Regions from separate parts of the Homo sapiens genome. Here region 2 is linked to region 1. Evidence: promoter capture Hi-C in 16 types of primary human blood cells and fetal thymus (Javierre and others, 2016). All regions are on one chromosome and are shown on one strand. The core of a region is centred on a gene start or on the middle of the fragment in contact, and the rest is flanking DNA. Distances in the headings are between cores, read along the strand shown.

Region 1 (3,604 bases), core at 263-2,762:
GCCCAGGCTGCTCTTGAACTCCTGGCCTCAAGCGATCCTCCCACCTCGGCCTCCCAAAGTGCTGAAATTACTAGCGCGAGCCACCACACGGGGCCAAGACCTTGTCTACACACACACACACCCCTTTTTAATTAGCCGGGTGTGGTGGCGAGCGCCCCTGGTCCCAGCTACTCAGGAGGCTGAGGCAGAAGGATCGCTTGAGCCCAGGAGACTGAAGCTACAGTGAGCCGTGACCGCGCCACTGTACTCCAGCCGGTGGGACAGAGCGAGACCCTATCTCAAAACACACACACACACCCCCCAAAACCAACTGGGTGTCAGTCACAGCTATCTCTGTAACTTTGCCTAAATTCCTTTATCAATAAAGGCAAATACACACGCCAGGCCTCCTTCACGAGGTTATCTGAAGTCTAATGCAAATGAGAAAAGCCGACCAACTGTCAGGTGCTGCCCAAATCTAAGATCCATCAAGTGATGGGTTCAGTCAAAGCTCAAAACCAACAGGAAAGGTCGTGGCCAAGCACACTGCAGTCACTCAATAAACAAAGGTCAAATAAGGAATACTGTTCTCCAATAATGGGGTGAAGAGGAGAACCAGGCTGCCCAGATCCAACAATGTCCCTGCACGATTCCTGACAGGTAACTCCCCGTCTCTGGGCCTTCTTTCCCCCTACGTGTACAATAAGGCTTTGACAATGAAGGCTTCTAATTACTGCTACATTAAGACAGGCAGACTCTGAGAGACCAGAGTGCCTTAAGCTGCAATGTCATGAAAAGTGCACGAGACCAGAGGGTAGGCACTGGACGGGGAGGCAAAGGCACAGAGGTCTGGTTTGAGCAGCCCTCTTGTGAGCAGTGTGACCTTGGCCAACTCCCTTCCCGCAAACCCCTTCCTCCCGTCTTCATCTGTACGCCTGGCCTGAAGGCTGGGGTTGCAGCAGAGCCGGAGCCGCCAGTGCGCCCGCCTGAAGCGTGGGCCAGCTCGCTGCTGCCTCGCCCCCACCCCACCCCACCTCACCCCAACCCAGCCCGAGGAGACCCACGCTCTTCCGCAAGCGAGGGATGGACCCCTTCCGGATGCAGAACGTGCCAGGACAGCAGTTTCGATTTCCTAAGGAGAAGGCTTACTTCCCCCGGCGTCCCGGCACCGCCGGCAATCAAGAGCCTCCCGTGCTGCCCTCGGGGCCCCGCGGCTGCACGCAGCACCGGCGCGGGACCTGCCAGCCCGGCTCCGCAGCCGGCCGCAGTCCCGCGGGGTCGGCATCGCGGGAGGGACGTTGTCATAGGAACCGCGCTCCGGACCCCGGCCCGAGAAGCTCCGGAGAGGCTAGACAGGAAGGCTCGCGAGACCCGCGGAGCCCCCATGCAACCACGCCCGGCCTTCCCCTCCCACGGCAGCTTCGCACGGCCAGCAGCGCCCCCACAGCTCCGTGTCTTCCCGCGCGGCTCCACAAAAAAACCCTACCTTCCGCCATGTCTGGCCCGGCACTGCCTGCAACCTCGCGAGAAGTGCGCGGCTCAACCGGGGCGGTGCGGAACGGAATCACCAAGTCTCGCGAGAATCGCGGGAGGCGCGGCAAAAGGCGGAGCCGAGGGTAGGAAAGTGGGTGAATGAAAGCGGAGGGGGTTGCTGGACTCTGGGGGAAGCGGAGAGCCGGGTTTCTTTTTACCGGGTATTTTTGAGGCTCGAGATTTATTAAGCACTGACTGAGCCCTGTCATATTCCACGTCCTTGGCAGGGCACCGAAAAGGATGACACAACGAATGCAGACTACTCTGGAGAAGCTTGGCAATGAGAGGGTCGAGAGAGGGGGTTTGTTGGTCCTTAGGTTTGTAAAGAAAGGAGAGGCTGGGAGAAAGGAGTCAGTGGAGAGGTCCCTGGGGAGGTAGGATGCTCTGCATGCGATGCAGAACTCAGGAAAACGGATTAAATTTAGACTAGAGGCAGGTCACCTGTTATTCCACTAAAACGGTAGGAAACAAGAACATGCGTGCAGATATATAGGGGGGAAGAAAATCAGGGAGATCGTTTGATGACATCGATTTTATGGGTGAAGTTATGAGACAAGGAAGGAGACCAAGAAGAGCAAAGAAACTTTGGAAGAGGACGCTGAAGTTGGAAGGCCTGGTTTCATGTGCCTCATGTATGTGTTGATGGATCACTTTTTTCTAGAACTCAGCCACCAGGCTGCAGTAGCAGATATTTTGAATTATAGCATTTATCCAGGGCTTGGGATTGCATTGCCCAAAATAAATTGAGGGTGCTATGAGACGACAGCCCAGGCCATCAAACGTGGGATACAGACTGGCTAGGGACTGATGGAGGAGCCACGAAACTGCAGGTCTCTGATAATTGAAGGCCAGTGCAGTGCAGGCAATGTTGTGAGAGCTTGGTGGTTAAAGTGGCAAACAGGTTCATAGTGAAGTAGCACTAGGAGATGAGAAAAGTCCAGGACAGGCCGGGCGTGGTGGCTCACGCCTGTAATCCCAGCACTTTGGGAGGCCGAGGAGGGTGAATCACCTGAAGTCTAGAGCTCAAGACCAGCCTGGCCAACATGGTGAAACCCCGTCTCTACTAAAAATACAGAAATTAGCCGGGCGTGGTGGTGCATGCCTGTAATCCCAGCTACTCGGGAGGCTGGGGCAGTAGAATCGCTTGAACCCGGGAGGCAGAGGTTGCAGTGAGCCAAGATTGTGCCACTGCACTCCAGCCTGGGCAACAGAGTGAGACTCTGTCTCAAAAAAAAAAAAAAAAAGTCCAGGACAGAGCCACGGAATAGAGTGGCTGAAGTGGAAGTGAGAAGGCAGGAAAATTAGATGTTGGGATTTAGAGGTAGGAAAGGAAAGGAGCATCAGGAGCTAAAATCTTTGGTGAATGTGGGGAGGACTATACGATTAGTTAAGACAATTGCAAAATGGAGGGCTAAACAGTAACATAGCTGAATAGCATGAGACCTTTCTTGTTTTTTGTTTTTTTTTTTTTTCAGAGATGGAGTCTCTGTTGGCCAGGTTGGTCTTGAACTCCTAGTCTCAAGCAGTCCTCCCACCCCAACCTCGCAAAGTACTGAAATTACAAGCATGAGCCACCATGCCCGGCCCAGCATGAGACCTTTCAAAAAAGACTTTTACTCAAGGGAGAATCAAAAGAATGCATCAATAGTTCAGGATTGCAGGGAAAGTGGTGGCCTTGGAGGACAGCCAGGAGTAAGAGACAAAAGGTTGGAAGGAAGGATCTGAATTAGCTATACCTGGTGGTGCAGGCTTTTAGTTGTCGCTACTTGGGAGGCTGAGGCTGAGGCTGGAGAATTGCTTGAGTCCAGGAGTTTGGGACTGCAGTGAGCTCTATCCTGCCGCTGCACTGCAGCCTGGGTGACAGAGCAAGACTCTGTCTCTAAAATTAAATAAGAAAAAGAAAAGAAATTTAAAAAGAAGAATCTGAGAACAGAATAAGAGTGTCAGAAACGAAAAGGAGGATTTAAAGTTGGAGAAGCTTTAGGTGCTGTTAAGGATAAGCATTAGTGGGTAGTGAGGTGGAGTGGAGGAGGAATTTGGAGCTTAGATCGTGGGAACATAGAGTCAAGCACTGAATTTTTGAGGAAGAGTA
Region 2 (3,921 bases), core at 1,102-3,601, 110 kb after region 1:
ACTCAAGCCTGGGCAACAGAGTGAGACTATGTCTCCAAAAAATAAAGAAATAAATAAAAATAAAATAAAAAATAACAATAAAAAGGCCTAAAAATGAGCCCTGAAGCACCCCAAGATTTAGAGGTCAGATGGAGAAGGAGCCAGCAATGGAGGCTGAGAAAGAAAAGACAAAAGAGGAGAGAAACTTGGTGTGGTTTCGCAAAAGCCAAGATGAGAAAATGTTCCCAGAAAGAAGGAATGATCAACAACTCCATGCTGCTGAGAAGTAGAGAAAGACGAAGGCTGAGAGGTGTGCTTTGAATTCTGAAACCGGGAAGTTGCTGCTGACCCTGATGGAGGATGTTGATGGAGCAGTGTTGAGGGCTGTCAGAGCAGCGTGGGCTGAAGGTTGAGTAGAGGGCAAGGAGGTGGAGGTTTCAATGCTGGGAGTTTATTTGAGGTTTGTGGTCATGAACTGAAAGTGCAACCTGTAGGTCCAGTTGAGGTTTTTCTTATTTTTTTTTCCAGTAATGTTCAGTTGCTCAGGTGCAGTTATGACTTGTAGTTGGGTTCATTCAGGCTTGAGGATCAGCCAGGCAAGTAAAACGGAGAGAGAGGGAGACAAACAGCTGAGTTGGTTGAGGGTGTATGCAGAGAAGGGTTGTAGTAATGGACTATTCTCTAAGCTTGGAAGAGAAGGAAGACAAAACAGAAGGGAAATGACGGATAGTGAAAAATGGTACACAGAACGGGGTCCTGTTGAGGTGGAAGAGTTGCATGGTGTGAACACTAAATCAAGTAAGCTGGAAGGATAAGAAATGGTGGTCAGGGTGGGTGGCTGGAAACTGAGAATCAGGGGGTGGTGCAGTTTTGGGTGACAAGACTGTCTCATGTGAACATAGGCCAGCTGGTGGGAAGGGGAGAAGAGGAAGTCAAGTGGTGACAGGCAGGGGTACTGGATGGGTCATCCACGTGGGTAATTAGGTCCCCAAGGAGAAGGGCTGGAGTAGAAGGAAGAGAAGGGCTGTGAGGCAGGAACCAAAGTTCGTGATGAGGGGGTCTGCCGGTCACAGCACCAAAGGGGAGTAACAAGTGCTGCAGCTGGATGGCATTAACCTCAAACGAGCTAGGGGCTGGCCGGGCGTGGTAGGTCACACCTGTAATCCCCAAAATTTGGGAGGCCAAGAATGGGCAGATCGCTTGAGGCCAGAAGTTCGACCAGCCTGGCCAACGTGGTGAAACCCCGTCTCTACTGAAAATACAAACATTAGCCTGGCATGGTGGCACACCTGTAGTTCCAGCTACTCAGGAGGCTGAGGCAGGAGAATCACTTGAAACCGGGAGGCAGAGGTTGCAGTGAGCTGAAATTGCACCAGCCTGGGCAACAGAGTGAGACTCTGTCTCAAAAAAAATAAAATAAAAAAGAAACAGGTTCTCAAACTCCTGGCCTCAAGCCACCTTTTCCCTCTCAGCCTCCCAGAGTGTTGGGTTTACACTTGTGAGCCACTGCACCTGGGCCCTTGCTTTTTTGTTTGTTTGTTTCTGTTTTTTGAGATGGAGTCTTGCTCTGTCGCCCAGGCTGGAGTGTAGTGGCACGATCTCGGCTCACTGCAACCTCCGCCTCCTGAGTTCAAGGGATTCTCCTGCCTCAGCCTCCCAAATAGCTGGGATTACAGATGTGTGCCACCACGCCCAGCTAATTTTCGTATTTTAATAAAGTTGGGGTTTCACCACGTTGCCCAGGCTGCTCTCAAACTCCTGACCTCAGGTAATCTGCCTGCCTCGGCCTCCCAAAGTGCTGGGATTACAGGCGTGAGCCACTGCGCCCAGCCTTTATTTTTATGTATTTATTTTTTTGAGACGGAGTCTTGCTCTGTCACCCAGGCTGGAGTACCGTGGCATGATCTCTGCTCACTGCAGCCTCTGCCTCCCGGGTTCCAGCGAGTCTCCTGCCTCAGCCTCCCGAGTACCTGGGATTACAGGCACACACCACCATGCCCAGCTAATTTTTGTATTTTTAGTAGAGATGGGGGTTTCACCAGGTTGGCCAGGCTGGTCTCGAACACCTGACCCCAGGTGATCCGCACGCCTCGGCCTCCCAAAGTGCTGGGATTACAGGCGTGAGCCACCATGCCCGGACCTTTTTTTTTTTTTTTTTTTGAGACTGAGTCTCACTCTGTCACTGAGGCTGGAGTGGTGCAGTGCCGTGATCTTGGCTCACTGTCTGCCTCCTGGGTTCAACCGATTCTCCTGCCTCAGCCTCCCGAGTAGCTGGGATTACAGATGCCCACCACGACGCATGGCTAATGTTTGTATTTTCAGTAGAGACGGGGTTTCACCACGTTGGCCAGGCTGGTCGAACTTCTGGCCTCAAGTGATCTGCCCATTCTTGGCCTCCCAAATTTTGGGGATTACAGGTGTGACCTACCACGCCCGGCCAGCCCCTAGCTCGTTTGAGGTTAATGCCATCCAGCTGCAGCACTTGTTACTCCCCTTTGGTGCTGTGACCGGCAGACCCGCTCATCACGAACTTTGGTTCCTGCCTCACAGCCCTTCTCTTCCTTCTACTCCAGCCCTTCTCCTTGGGGACCTAATTACCCACGTGGATGACCCATCCAGTACCCCTGCCTGTCACCACTTGACTTCTTCTCCTCCCCTTCCCACCAGCTGGCCTATGTTCACATGAGACAGTCTTGTCACCCAAAACCACACCACACCCCAAATTCTCGGTTTCCAGCCACCCATCCTGACCATCATTTTTTTTTTTTTTTTTTTTGAGACATAGTCTTCCTCTATTGCCCAGGCTGGAGTGCAGTGGTGCAGTGGCCTGATCTCGGCTCACCAGAACCTCTGCCTCCCGGGTTCAAGCTATTCTCCTGCCTCAGCCTCCCAAGTAGCTGGAACTACAGGCATGTGCCACCACGCCTGGCTAATTTTTATATTGTTAGTAGAGATGGAGTTTCGCCATGTTGGCCAGGCTGGTCTCAAACTCCTGACCTTGTGATCCACCCACCTTGGCCTCCCAAAGTGCTGGGATTATAGGTGTGAGCCACCATACCATACCCGGTTGAAACCGTGTTTCTTTTTTCTTTCTTTCTTTCTTTTTTTTTTTTTTTGAGAAGGAGTCTCACTTAGTTGCTCAGGCTGGAGTGCAATGGCAGGATCTCGGCTCACTGCAACCTCCGCCTCCCAGGTTCTAGTGATTCTCCTGCCTCAGCCTCCTGAGTAGCTGGGGCTACAGGCGCCCGCCACCACGGCCGGCTAATTTTTTGTATTTTTAGTAGAGACAGGGTTTCACCGTGTTAGCCAGGCTGGTCTCGAATTCCTGACCTCGAGTGATCGCCTGCCTCGGCCTCCCACAGTGCTGGGATTATAGGTGTGAGGCACCGCGCCTGACCCCATTTTGGCTTAAATGTCTGCCCTTCACAATCTAGTCTCTAGGGATGCTCTAGCCTCATCCTGACACACTCTACTTCTGACACACTACACTTCTTTCCTTCCTCCAAAAGGTCTTTCCATTTGGTGTTACAATAGCTTAAAACACTCTTTTCTGGGCCAGGCGTGCTGGCTCACGCCTATAATCCCAGCACTTTGGGAGGACGAGACGGGGGCGGGGGATCATGAGGTCAAGAGTTGGAGACCATACTGGCCAACATAGTGAAACCCCGTCTCTACTAAAAATACAAAAATTAGCCAGGCGTGGTGGTGCACGCCTGCTACTCGGGAGGCTGAGGCAGGAGAATCGCTTGAACCCAGGAGGCGGAGGTTGCAGTGAGCTGAGATCGCGCCATTGCACTCCAGCCTGGCAACAGAGCGAGACTCCGTCTCAAAAACAAACAAATAAACAAGCAAATAGCACTCATTTCTGCTAGATGTATGTGGTTAATACCTACAAATCCATCTTTCAGATCCTTGAAAGAAGCAACTTCCTCCAGAATACCT

What was found. The method cuts DNA at HindIII sites, captures the fragments that hold promoters and counts their contacts. A CHiCAGO score of 5 or more calls a contact.
Region 2: a contact is called between a fragment that was not itself captured here and the fragment with the promoter of ANKFY1 in region 1, in 2 of 17 cell types (endothelial precursors and total CD8 T cells). The highest score is 5.5, in endothelial precursors.

Annotation. Positions count from the first base shown.
Region 1 is chr17:4,262,467-4,266,070 of GRCh38, forward strand. ANKFY1 (ankyrin repeat and FYVE domain containing 1) reads right to left here and starts at 1,513. Exons shown (of 25, transcript NM_001330063.2): 1 at 1,466-1,513. The coding sequence starts at 1,475. RefSeq lists a silencer at 810-959 and an enhancer at 1,610-1,699. The HindIII fragment of the contact is 3,100 bases long and covers 1-1,783 here.
Region 2 is chr17:4,374,784-4,378,704 of GRCh38, forward strand. No RefSeq gene overlaps it. Among named protein-coding and RNA genes, the nearest start is that of UBE2G1, 10 kb to the left of the region's middle. RefSeq lists an enhancer at 543-592. The HindIII fragment of the contact is 3,377 bases long and covers 664-3,921 here.